3 separate regions of the Homo sapiens genome follow, and regions 1 and 2 are each linked to region 3. Evidence: promoter capture Hi-C in 16 types of primary human blood cells and fetal thymus (Javierre and others, 2016). All regions are on one chromosome and are shown on one strand. The core of a region is centred on a gene start or on the middle of the fragment in contact, and the rest is flanking DNA. Distances in the headings are between cores, read along the strand shown.

Region 1 (4,000 bases), core at 858-3,357, 230 kb after region 3:
AATATTTCTTTTCATAGTAATCTCCTCTTGTGTGTCCGGTAACCATTTTATCAGGGCTCTGGACATATTGCCCCAAAATATGACCAGAGGAGACCAGAATATGCCACCCCAAAATATACTTTTAAGATCTATTTTGAGCTAGTTATCCTGAGAGACACCAGACATGGGAGTAGCTCTGAAAAGCTGCCCTTTTGTAATAGAAATGTTTATCAATAAAGGAAACCTACATTAGTAAAAGTATCTGCATCAGAAAGAAGGCTGCTTTTAAAGACAACTTTTTTACCTGAGAAACTTCTTGTCTTGTAACAAGACAATCTTTATTTACCATACATTTCTTCCACTCACCAACCCCCCGATAACTTGTCTCCATCACCCCCAGATGCCCCCAGTCCTTATTCCTTTCCATAGCTCAGGATAGTATGCAAGCTTCAATCACCTGGCCCTTCTTTGAGTCTCATATTGTGTGGGACTCTTGTGCTTATGCACATAATTAAATATGTTTTTTTTTTTCTCCTGTTAATATGTCTTATGTTAATGCATAGCCTGGCCAAAGAACCTGAAAAGGTGAAGGGAGGCCATTTTTCCCTCCACTACAACCTCAAACTTAACACAAGAGGACCTTCCTGGTTAACGTTTGTCATTCCATTCCCAGTGCCTAGACTACTGCCTGGCACTATGTAGACCATCTGTCTACCTGCAAGAATCATAGAGACTTGAATACAAGGTCTACTCTCAGAGGGAGAGCTGTCTATTATAGGCCTGTAGATCAAACTTTGTGAAAGTAACTTTGTAACCCATTGCCCCTGTGGTGGATTAACGATGGCCACAAATTCTTTGACAATACTCCCATCAGGAGTAGATCTAAGTTTCCTTGCCCCAGAACCTAGATAGGCCCGTAACTGCTTTGGCCAATACAATACAGCAGAAGCAATGCAGTACCTATTTCCAGGCCCAGGTGTGAGAAACTGGAAACTTCTACCCCTTTGGAACTCTTTCTCTCTGGGTACCCTGAGCTACCAGGTAATGTCTGACCAGCCTAAGACCATCGTGCCAGAGAAGCCACGTGTAAGCACTCCAGTTGACAGAATCCACTGAGCCCTGTTTTGTAGGCTTCCCTGTCAAGGCACCAGACATGTGAGTAAAGCTATCTCGGACCTTCCAGACCAGCCCATCCACCAGCTGAACACCACCCAGTGATCTCAGTCAATGACAGAGGGAGCAGAAGAATTGCCCACTGACATTGCCTGAATTCCTGACCCACCAAGCCAAGAGATATGGTGAAATGGTTGCTACCTTAAGCTGTAAGTTTTAGAGTAATTTGTTATGTAGTTAACAGATAACCAGAATAGGCCCCAACAACAACAAAACAAAAACAAACAAACAAAAGTCTATGCCCTTATGGAAGGTCTCAATTAATAATGTGTTTGACTGTAAATAACAGAAAACCCCGTTTAGTGGCTTAACCAGATAACAGACCTCCAGAGCTGGGCAGCCTAGAATTGGTACAGCTTCCCCACGTTGCCCCCAGAGACTCAATCTCCTTCTGTCTTCCTGCCTGCATCCTCAGGGGATGACTACTCTGCCTGTAGCCAGGCAGCAGGGTTGAAGACAGTAAAAAGAGGCAAGGGCAAGACAGTACTTCTTTTGAAAAGTTTTTCTAGAGGTTTCAGTCAATTACTTTCCCTTACATTTCATTGGCAAGATTTGGGTAACAAGGGCCACCTCTAGCTGCAAAGGAGTCTGAGAAGACAGGTGCTTTTAGCACAGCACATCGTCACCCACATGGTAACTGGGATTCTGTTAGAAAGGAAGAATGGCTATTACCTAAGCAATTAGTGTCTGCTGCAGGAATTCTTCCTGTCCTGGGACCTCAAACTGAGCAGTGGCTGCTTGCTGCTTAGCTCCTGCTTGCTGAGTTCCTACAGAGAAATGGTTCAGAGCATAAATCTCGCTGGAAGGGTAGGAAAGGGGGCTTATCTTGAAGTCGAATTTTCATGGAAAATGCACTGTTTTTTGCTTACTTGTATGTTCACTGGGGATGGCTTAGGGAAGCCTATAGAAGTTCTTTTGGAGGGGAGCACCTCCTCTTCCCCCACCAAGTACCCCTTGAAGCTGACATTGTCTTCTTGGGCGGGGAAGCACCAACAGTCATAGTTACTCTAAGGCATAATTTGAAATTTGCTCTTCACAAATATAAAAGGCCTTAATAACTAGGTCAAAGCGTAACAATCATTGCTGTATGTCTTTGCATGACAAATGAACAAAGATGCAAAAATTTCAATAGCACCCATATATACAAAAACTCATTACAAAAATGGAGACTTGTCATGTTTGGAACAAGAATTAAAAAAAAAAAAAAAAACTCATCTGAAATCCAAATACCTCACAAGCACTTGAATGTGTAACATGGCCTAAATGTTAATGAAGCAATTCGGCTCACTCAGCAGGATGAGCACAAAAGAAACCCTTTTCAAGACACAGCTGTCAACAATTACACTTGGTGGGGTGAAGCTGGCTGATATTCAGCATCTTAAAACTCATGGAAATGTGGAGTCTATTTGACCAAAAACCATTCCAGACTCCAGGGAAGACAGTAAACCCCTGTTTATTTGGCAGTCCAGAGAAAGGAGAATGGGATATTCTAGTTAGCCAGGCATCCCCACCCAGCTCAGAAATAAATAACAAGGTTTTTTTGTTTTATTTGTTTTTGTTTTTAAGATTCAAAGTGATACAGAAAGCACGTAAGGATGATATGGGAGCTAACCTACCCTTTCATTGATGCGGAGGTTTGGATGGCATGCGGACGGTCTGGATGGCATGCGGACGGTCTGGCAGGGCCTCAACGATTTCCTAATTGTCAAGGAGAACTTTTTTTTAAATTTTAACTTTCTGGTTATCTATGTTTTTGTAAAGAGAAGTTCATTTTACTCTATTATGACGATTAAGCGAAGAGAGCCTCCATTCTGGCTGAGGAGTGCTCTTCAGAGAATTACTCCTCTTACCCCAGCACACGCCCACACGAAACTAGCAGACAGATTTGTACATAGTGGCTCTTTGACCACAGAGAGTCAGACCAGCATTAAGTCCTCACCAAAGTGAGGTAATCAGATTCTCCTTATTGGAAGGTTGAGGGGTCTGAATTCAGAGAAGCCCTACTATATATACCAGTTTCCTTGAGCAGAGAATATGTGAATTTGGGATGCAAAGTGACCATTTTTTACCTTGTGCAAAGAGAAGGAAAGGGTCAGATGGAGAAAAAGAAAAGTAGGAGGTGAGTGTGCTGAGTGAAGAACAGAAGAGAAACAACATAGCCTGAGAAGGAGACTTCCCAGAGTGGCCACCTGGGTTTCCAATAGCCTCTAGTTTCTAGTTCTTGCTTCCCATGAGGCATGACTGTACTTCTTGTCCTGTTTCCCTGGGGCTCCCATGTATCCTTCCTGTTTGACATAAACTGGTTTGAATGATTTGGCAACTGCTATCTGCTGTTTCTCCAATCTTTATTCTCCCCTTCTTCCTGACTAGTTGAAACCCAGTTTTATTCAGAGCAGGTAAAAAGACCACAAAATTGGAGGTCACTGGAATTTTCAAGAAGTTTCTTAAAGAGGGTAGACTAAGTTAGAAGGCATGCCATTTTGCCCTTTCTCTTTCCTTCTCATTGTGTGGAAAGCAGGCATGATTGCTGGAGTTCCAGCAGCCACTTGTGATCATATGGCAACCATAAGGAGTGAAGCCAGTGCTAAGGATGATGGAGCAGAGGAACAAAAGGACCTAGGCCCCTGGCAACAAGGTAAAGCTTTCTTGTGAACCCAAGACTGTCACCTTCCATGTGTTATGTTATGTGCAGAAAAACAGACTTCTAATTTGCTGGAGTCACTAGGGTTTTTATTAGTAGCAGCCAGATGCAATTCTAAATGTCACCAATGGCTGTTAGTTCCTTGCTGCCAATCCTGAACACAGTTTCACATATCTTATTACAAATTCTACCAAATATTCCCATGGA
Region 2 (4,294 bases), core at 582-3,081, 190 kb after region 3:
TGACCTCGTGATCCGCCCGCCTCGGCCTCCCAAAGTGCTGGGATTACAGGCGTGAGCCACCGCGCCCGGCCTTTTTTTTTTGCTTTTTATAAATTTCCAAGAACGTCATGCTCCTCCTACCCATTCTTCCCAGCTAAACAGTCATTAGATTATAAGACAGGCATTCAGAAGGGTTAATGGAATTGATCCTTTTGATAATGTCTATTTACTAAAAGAACAGAGATTGTCTTATTTTTATGTACTCTATATATGTAACTTTTATGTACATTTGAGATTAATTGCTATGAAATGAAGTACACCATTTTCCTCTTCTTGACTTTCATATAAATGACATCATGGAGTATGTACTTTATTGTGTCTGGGTTCTTTTGCTAAGCTTAATATTTGTGAGATTCACTTATGTCATTCTGTATATTTTTCATTACTGTGTAGTATTCCATTGTATAAATAGGCTAGGGTTTATTTACCTATTCTTCTGTTGGTGGACATTTGGATTGTTCCCAATTTTTGGTTATTATGAAAAAAGCTGCTATGAACATTCTTGTACATGTCTTCTAGTAGACACAGGCTTCATTTCTCTTGGATATACACTTAAGAGTGGGATTGCTGGGTCAAAAGATAGTTATGTGTTTAGCATTGCTACATAATGCCAAACAGCTTTCCAGGACTTGTAGGGATTTATACTGTCACCATCAATATGAGAGTTTCAGTTTCTTGACATCTTAACCAATAATTCGTATCATCGGTCTTTAAATTTAGCCATTCTGATGAGTATATAGTGTTATTTCATTGTGGTTTTAATTTCCATTTCCGTTATGAGTAATAATGCTGAGTACTTTTCCATATGTTTATTAGACAATTAGGTATTTGAATATCCTCCTTTGCCATGTGTCTGTTCATGTCTTTTGACTTTTCTTGTTTCTTCATTTTTAGAGACAGAATCTTACTCTGTTGCCCAGGCTGGAGTGCAGTAGAGCAGTCATAGCTCACTACAGCCTAAAACTCCTGGGCTCAAGTGATCCTCCTTCCTCTGACTCCCAAGTAGCTAGAACTACAGGTGCTTGTGTGCCACCACACCAACTAATTTCTTTGCTCATTTATTATTTAGGTGTCTTTTTTCTTATTGATTTATAGGAATTCTTTATACATTCTGGATGTAAGTCTTCTGTTGGATATATGCATTGCAAATATTTTCTCCCAGGCTATGGCTTGCATTTTCACTCCTTTAATGGTGTCTGACTTTTGATGAGTAGAAGTTCTTAATTTTAGTGATGTCCAATTAATTAACGTTTTACAGTTAGTGCTTTTTGTGTCCTATTTAATCTCTGCTTAATCCAAGTTCATGAAGATATTATTCTGTGTTTCTTCTAGAAGCTTTATTTTTTCATCCTTCACATGTAATTTTTACTATCAATCTCAAAATAATATTTGTGTCTGATGTAGAAGGCAAAGTTCTTTTTTCCATATGGATATACAATTGCTATAAAACCATTACTGAAAAGATTCTACTTTTGCCTTTGTGTTGTTATTGCATATCAAGTAACTGTATGTATGTGGGTATATTTCTAGGCTTTCTAGTTTATTTTGTTGATGTATTTGCCTGTCCTCAGGCCAGTACCACACTGTATGAATCACTGTGGCTTTATAGCAAATCTTGAAATTTGGTTGTGTAAATCCTTCAACTTTGTGTTTTTCTTCAGGGTTGTCTTGATTATTCTAGGCCATTTGCATTTCCATGAAAATATTATGAATTTCCACAAAAAAATCTACTAGAATTTGATTGGAATTTCATTGAATCTGTAGGTCAATTTGGGAAGAACTGACATCTTAACACTTGAATATCTAATTCAATTTAGCAAGGTTACTGGATAAATCTATGTATATTCCACTATGTTGTCTGATTAAAAACAGTGTCACTTCTTCATTTCCAACCTTTATATATATTTTTTTCTTGCCTTAATGAACTGGTTATTTCCTCCAACATAATGCTTAATACTAGTGGTGATAGTGGGCATTCTTGTCTTATTTCTGGCCTTGGGGGTAAGGAGATCACTATTTTACCATTTATGTAATGTTAACCTTAAGAATTTTATAGGTACTCTTGATCAGATTAAGGAAGTTCCCATCTTATCCTAGTTTACTAAGAGATTTTATCATGCATAACTTGAATTTTGTCAAATGCTTTTTCTGCATATATTGAGGTGATATTATGATTTTTCTCTTTTATTTTGTTAATTTGGTGAATTACTTTGATCAATTATTGAATAATAATCAGTTTTATAGTTTCGTAAAGCTTCACTTGGTCAATGTATAATCTTGTTTCTTTATCAATAGATTCAATTTATTAATGTTATCTTGTTTGGGATTGTAATGTCTTTGCTCTTAAAACATAGTGGCCTATAATAGTCCTTTCTTAGAATGTCCTTGGCAGTTTTTGATATTAGAATTATGCTGGCCTCATAAAACCCCCAAATTTGGAATTGTTTCCTCATTCTTCTTGAAAAGTATATTAATTTTCCCTTAAGTATTCAGAAAAATTTATCAACAAAGCCATCCGAACGTACAGTTTTGCTCTGTTTTCTGGGGTGGGGCAGGCTTTTAATTACAGATTTGGTTTTTAAAATCAATATAGGATTACTTATTTTTCCTATTTCCTCTTGCGTCAGTTTAAATAATTTACATTTCTCAAGGAATTTGTTCATTTCAACAATGTTGTAAAATTTTTTGGCATTTTGTTTTTAAAATTTAGGATCTGTAGTTATACTTCTTTTAAAGTTCCTGACATAGGTAATTTGTGATTTTTTTTCCTTCTTAATTTTATAGTCAGAATTTATCAATTTTATTGCTCTTTCCAATAAAACAATTTTTTGTGTTATTCATATTTTGTTTCTACCTCCATTTCTATTTCATTGATTTCTCCTTTTTTCTTTATTTCCAGTCTTTTTGTTTTTTGGTTTGTTTCATTTGTATTTCTTTTTCTTGCTTCTTGAGATGGAAACCCGGTCTGGGTTGTATACCATGATGGTACACAAAATAGTACAAGGAGTTGATTTTATATTATACTGAATCACATACTAAGAAATGTATTCTTTTAAATTATCTTTCAGTCCTTCTAATTAAATCAAGAAGAGTTTCCACTTGAAAGTTTTAACAGTTCTCTAATTCTTGCCTATCTTGCTATTTTTCTTGTTTAAACAGAGAACAGGCCCAGGCTCAGAGCTTTTATCAAGCCCCAGGATGGAGCTAAAAGTTAACAACATTGTTTGGTTTGCATGGCACTAATTTTCAAGTTAGTTTCTGTTTATGGCAAATACTCCTGGTTTTCTACCCATGGGAATGATATAAGATCTCTTTTTAAAATATATGTATCTAAGTAAAAGACAAATTAGTTTAAAGAAAACTATTAATATGTTGAGGCAAGTACAGTGAAAGGATACTTGAATGACTGCGTTTGGAACATGCAATTCAATACTATTGCAAGGTGTTTGTTATTATCTTCCAAAAAGCTTCTATTCCAGATTATAGTATTCCAGTGCCTTCTCTGCCTTTGATACAGAAACCATTGGCCCCTCAGGGAGACAAACCTTTATTTGGTTTTAAAATCATATCTTTTTCCTTGGGCATTTCTTCAGGTGTAGAGCACACAACTGAAACCAGCAATGAGAGCTGTTTAAAGTTTTTTTGTAGTATTCGTTTTTCCTTAGGGCTTTTATTTTTTTATTTTTATTTTTATTTTATTTATTTATTTATTTTTTTTTTTTTTTGAGTCGGAGTTTCACTCTTGTTGCCCAGGCCGGAGTGCAATGGCATGATCTCTGCTCACTGCAACCTCCGCCTCCCAGGTTTAAGCAATTCTCCTGCCTCAGCCTCCCGAGTAGCTGGGATTACAGGCATGTGCCACCATGCCTGGCTAATTTTATATTTTTAGTAGAGACGGGGTTTCTCCATGTTGGTCAGGCTGGTATCGAACTCCTGACCTCAGGTGATCCACCCGCCTTGGCCTCCCAAAGTGCTGGGATTACAGGCGTGAGCCACTGCACCTGGCCCTTTTCTCCCTTTTTTAAAATTGAGATGGGCGGGGTCTCACTATGTTACAAATATTGTAAGATGTTAATTGTAGAATCTAGGTGGTAGATACATCTGTGCTCACTGTAAGTTTCTTTCAACTTCTATATATGATTGAAAATTTTTATAACAAGAGATTGGGAAAAAATCTAACCCATTTTGTGTTTTCCAAAGGAAGCATGTAGAAAATAGGACTTTTCAGATCTGCATGCAGTGGTGGTGAAATGGT
Region 3 (4,360 bases), core at 600-3,099:
TCTCTGCTTAGAGTAACTAGAAATATACGTGATGAGATGGACTTCAACCCCTGGACATCAGTGCTTTTCCAAATTCATATTTCCCTCCTATTTTTCTAGCCACGACTCCCGTTTCTTTCCAACTTCCCTTCCCCTCCCATCTCAGTAATCAGTTTTCTTTCTGGGCAAACGCAAAGTGGATTCTGTCTACAGCACTGCGGTAGGCAATAGTAAAACAGAAAAAATGGAGGGAGATTGGGAAAGAAACTGAGGTAGCCACCAGAACCGGAAAGGAGAAAACGTGCATTCTAACATTCCATGAATAAGAAGGAAGGCGTCGCCCCCATCAGAACTGCAGAGTCATAGCAGGCCCCAGCCATTTCCAAGCACACTCCCGCAATCTTCCTAGTCAGACAGCGGGAACTCACACACAAAGACAAGAGGACTGCAGGAAAAAAGTTGATGACCAGATGCCAATTCCCTACAAGAATTGTAGTCCACTGCGGGTATACGAGACCTTAAAGTACTACTATCAAGGACTGAGTTCTAAAGTTAGACTTTAAACCATGTTAAGTGGTAAAAGAATAATTAGCACCCTTAATAGGGGACCTGAATTTTGGTGCTTAATGGAAAGGGAGCGTGGTGCTAAGAAATAAAGAGAATGGTCTCGTATTTAGTACAATTATCATAATTTTAGAAACAGCCTTGGGCAGAAACAGGCAAAACAATAAGCTGGAGGTTTTGTGGCAAATATTCTCCAAACATATTGCAACCAACTCAAAACCATCAAGTCTCAAGAAAATCAGGCAATGTGAAGCATAAAACTGCATTAGTTCCTTTACTGCCACCACTAAAGAGGGAGGGACTTAGAGAAGTGAAGTGTGCTCCTGGTCTTCGCAGATAATTGAAAGCCCCCGAAAAGCACCCCTTTTTTGAGCTATGTTGCATAACTGGGGATAACCGTATATCGATGAATCTCCATATGAGAAGAGAAATCAATGGCAGTTCGCCATCTTGGAGAATTTAAAAAAAAAAAAAAAACAACCTATAGAGCTAGAGCTGAAGTCGAGATTCACGAATCCACCTACGCGGTCGGCGTACATCTCTCGCAAGCCCCAGAGGCCTGGACATCGGTAAACCTACGCAAAGTCGCTTCGAGAATCCCGGGGGCCGGGCCGGGGCCGCCGCCTCCCACAGCCGGAGGCGCGGGAGGCGCGCTGTCCGCGGAGCAAGAGCCGGCCAGAGAGCCTAGGGACCTCCACCCGGGGCCCGCGCGCCCCAGCCCGGATCCCCGACCCCCGCTTCCACCCCAGAACGTGCATAGCAAACCTCAGGGCTTCAAGAGAACCTAGGGGAACCGCACTAGGAGGAAAAAAGGAACCCCTCCCCTTGCCCTGGCCGGTGCGTGCCCCCTCCCCCAACCCGGGCACCTGGACCGACGCTGGGAACGCCGGGGGCGCCCGGCCAGGGCCAGCAAGGAGTCCGGCCGCCGCCCCCAGCCTGTCAGCGCAGCCCCGGGTGAGGGGGCGTCCCCGGGCCTCGGCCTCCCCGCCCGCCCGGCAGCCGCATCCTCGGCGCCCGCTGCCTAGCACACCTGCGGGCTCGGCCCTCAGTGTTCCAGCCCCGCGCTGCGGTGCCCCCGCGGCCGGCCACCCCGCTCCGGTGCAGGGACCAGGGTACCGGCCGCCACTGGTCCTCACCGTAATGCTCTGAAAGACGCCCCCGGCCGTGGCTGCCCAGACGTATTTGGCGTCGCAGTAGCCGACAATGGCGGCCTCCTGGCAGCAGCCATCGCACATCAGGTTATCCACGTAGCTCTGCCAACCGGCCATCTTCGAGCCCTTCGCACTGCAGCGCGGACGGCGAGGAGCAGCAGGCGCAGCGGCGGCGGCGGCGGTAGCGGGCGGCGGCGGCGCGGGGGGAGGCGGGGCGGGGGCGGGGAGGAGGCGGCTCTGCGCAGGCACCGACCGCCCCCCTCCCCGAGGAGCTGCGGCGGGAGGACGCGGGTTCAGCGATGAGGGACGAACCTCAGAGCGCGCTCGGCCGCCCGGCCGCCCGCAGCCGCGGGGCTGACAAACCAGCGGCGGGAGGCTGCGAAGCGGCTGTGCCTGTGGCGGCTGCTCCTTACCGCAGCGCCCTCCGTTTTCCGCGGACACGGCTGGGCGTGCGCGCGCGCGTGCGTGCGATCCTTCCGCGGCGCCCGGGCACGGAGGGTCCCGGGAAGGGCGGGGGGAGACTGAGGCGGGGGCGCGGAGGGATACCGCCCCGGGACAATCACGGCCGCCACGTGCGGGAGGCGCCGGCCGGGAGCGGTGGCGGGCCGAGCTTCGGACCTCGGGCCGGCGGAGAGGGTGGACCCCGCGTCGCTCTCGGCACCCCAGGAACAGCGGCGGCACGGACGCCTTGGAGCCCCGCGGCCGGGCCGCGATGTGCTTTTCTCCTGTGTTCGCTGCCCGGGATGCGGAATCTTGAGCCTCGGTGTCGGGTTACAGAGTTGTCCTGGTGACGGGATGCGGAGCGTTTCCTCCTTTTTGTTGTGGGGGCGGCTGGTGGCAGGGGCAGCTGGTGGCAGGGTTGCCCACGCTAATCTCCGAGTCTCTAAGGGCACCGTCTTTCCTGGATCCCTCTTGCGCCTCGTCCATAAAGGCAGACCCGCGGGCGCGCGCCGGCAACCTGAAATCAGAGCAGGCGTCCGTGGCGCTCAGGAACCTTGCTGAGCTTCGCCGATCTTTCATTGTTGCTTCATTTGGGTACCAAGGGCCTCTCATTCTGTGGATTCTTTGCCTGGAGGAGCCCCCTTAATGTTGCTAATCACGTGTGGTTAAATTGCTCGTAAATTCCGAACAAAACAAATAGCGACCTGTGTTACACTGTTTCTTGGTAACTGGGAAAGTTACTGGTGGCTTGAAGTATACGCAGAAAATACAAAGATTAAAAACTAGGGAAGAGTTCACTGAATGAACACCGTAACATTTCTGCTCTGCAGGGTAAAATAATTTCGGGACCCAGGTCTGGGAAAGATTTGTATTAACAAGGTAAACGGTGGGTAGAGTGCCTGAGAAGCTATTCGTATCGTCTTTGGTAGCCTCTGGGCACTAGGACTAGACATGGAATTAGGGGTCCCCCAACAATGACTTCAATTTTAGGTTAATAGAAACCATCTGCCACTTAAGGGAAAGAAAGCACCAAAATGTAGATAAGTTGATGTTCACCCTTAAAGTTATCGTGTGAGGTCATGATTTGTAGGAGGATTAAGGAATGTATCTCTGGAAAGGGCAAGAACGTTGCTTTTAAAAGTCTAATTGGTTCTGAAGTTTTATATTTTTTCTGCTGATTGCTTTAAAATGTTCAGCTACTAGAGAGAAAAAAAGTACAGTAAAAGAAACCCCCAAGTCAGAGACCTATCAGACTGAGAATATGTATTTTCTCATGTTCTAAAGATACAGAATACCTGTGTGGTGTAAAATGTGAACCAAAAATTGTTTCATTTTTGTAAGTGTGCCTCCCACCTGATTTAATTACACTTAATTGTTCTTGTTTATGACTCTGCCTTTTATGGTGATGTTGATCATTTTAGTCCTTCGATCATAGCACTGTATCATCTTAAAAGTTAATAATAGATTACTTGTAACACAGGCTCACTATGTGAGAATTCATCAAGCTGTATGTACATTTATTGTGCTCTTCATTGTATGTATAATTCAATAAATTGAAACAGTAAACGAAAAGGTAATTATAGAAAAAATACAGTGATAACTTGAAGTATGTTGAATTTTTATTAATTTACTCTGAAGGTTTTAAGATATAATTTCTAGACGTTACTATCTTATTGTTATAGCACAGAGTTGGAAATAACTACATTCTTTTCCTATTCTTTTATTGTTGGCTTTAAACAGTGAAAGAATTTGACCAACAATATTTTCTAATTCAAATCTCAAAAGATTCTAAAACACATTTCTTGGGTAAAATATTCACAAAAATTTAGAATTCTTGTCATTCTTCTATATTTTTCAAAATATAATTCATTTTAAATTACTGCTTACTTTTCCAACATGATGTTATTTTTCTAGAATTGCAAACAGTAAAATTTAAACAACTATGAAAAAAATTCTGTATAATAGATTAAATTTTACAGTTTCAATTTTTAGGTTATATATTCAAAGAGAGTCCATGTGCTGTCTTGGTTTTCAGTACTGTAATAAAGTAACCTGTGCTTTTTTGTTTGTTTGTTTATTGAGATGAGACTCCGTCACCAGGGCTGGAGTGCAGTGGCATGATCTCGGCTCACTGCAACCTCCGCTTCCTGGGTTCAAGCGATTCTCCTGCCTCAGCCTCCCAAAAGTAGCTGGGATTACAGACACCCGCCACTACGCCCAGCTAA

The links. The method cuts DNA at HindIII sites, captures the fragments that hold promoters and counts their contacts. A CHiCAGO score of 5 or more calls a contact.
Region 1: a contact is called between a fragment that was not itself captured here and the fragment with the promoter of PFN2 in region 3, in 10 of 17 cell types (megakaryocytes, endothelial precursors, erythroblasts and 7 more). The highest score is 13.6, in megakaryocytes.
Region 2: a fragment that was not itself captured here is called in contact with the fragment with the promoter of PFN2 in region 3 in 1 of 17 cell types (megakaryocytes); the score reaches 6.2 in megakaryocytes.

Annotation. Positions count from the first base shown.
Region 1 is chr3:150,200,430-150,204,429 of GRCh38, forward strand. No RefSeq gene overlaps it. Among named protein-coding and RNA genes, the nearest start is that of LINC01213, 36 kb to the right of the region's middle. RefSeq lists an enhancer at 2,239-2,740. The HindIII fragment of the contact is 3,367 bases long and covers 425-3,791 here.
Region 2 is chr3:150,160,518-150,164,811 of GRCh38, forward strand. No RefSeq gene overlaps it. Among named protein-coding and RNA genes, the nearest start is that of LINC01213, 76 kb to the right of the region's middle. The HindIII fragment of the contact is 919 bases long and covers 1,373-2,291 here.
Region 3 is chr3:149,969,046-149,973,405 of GRCh38, forward strand. PFN2 (profilin 2) reads right to left here and starts at 1,850. Exons shown (of 3, transcript NM_053024.4): 1 at 1,680-1,850. The coding sequence starts at 1,811. LOC646903 (a long non-coding RNA gene) reads left to right here and starts at 2,234. Exons shown (of 1, transcript NR_036538.1): 1 at 2,234-4,197. RefSeq lists silencers at 1,046-1,305, 1,326-1,375, 1,386-1,625, 1,836-1,915, 2,146-2,205 and enhancers at 2,051-2,582, 2,583-3,113. The HindIII fragment of the contact is 10,546 bases long and covers 1-4,360 here.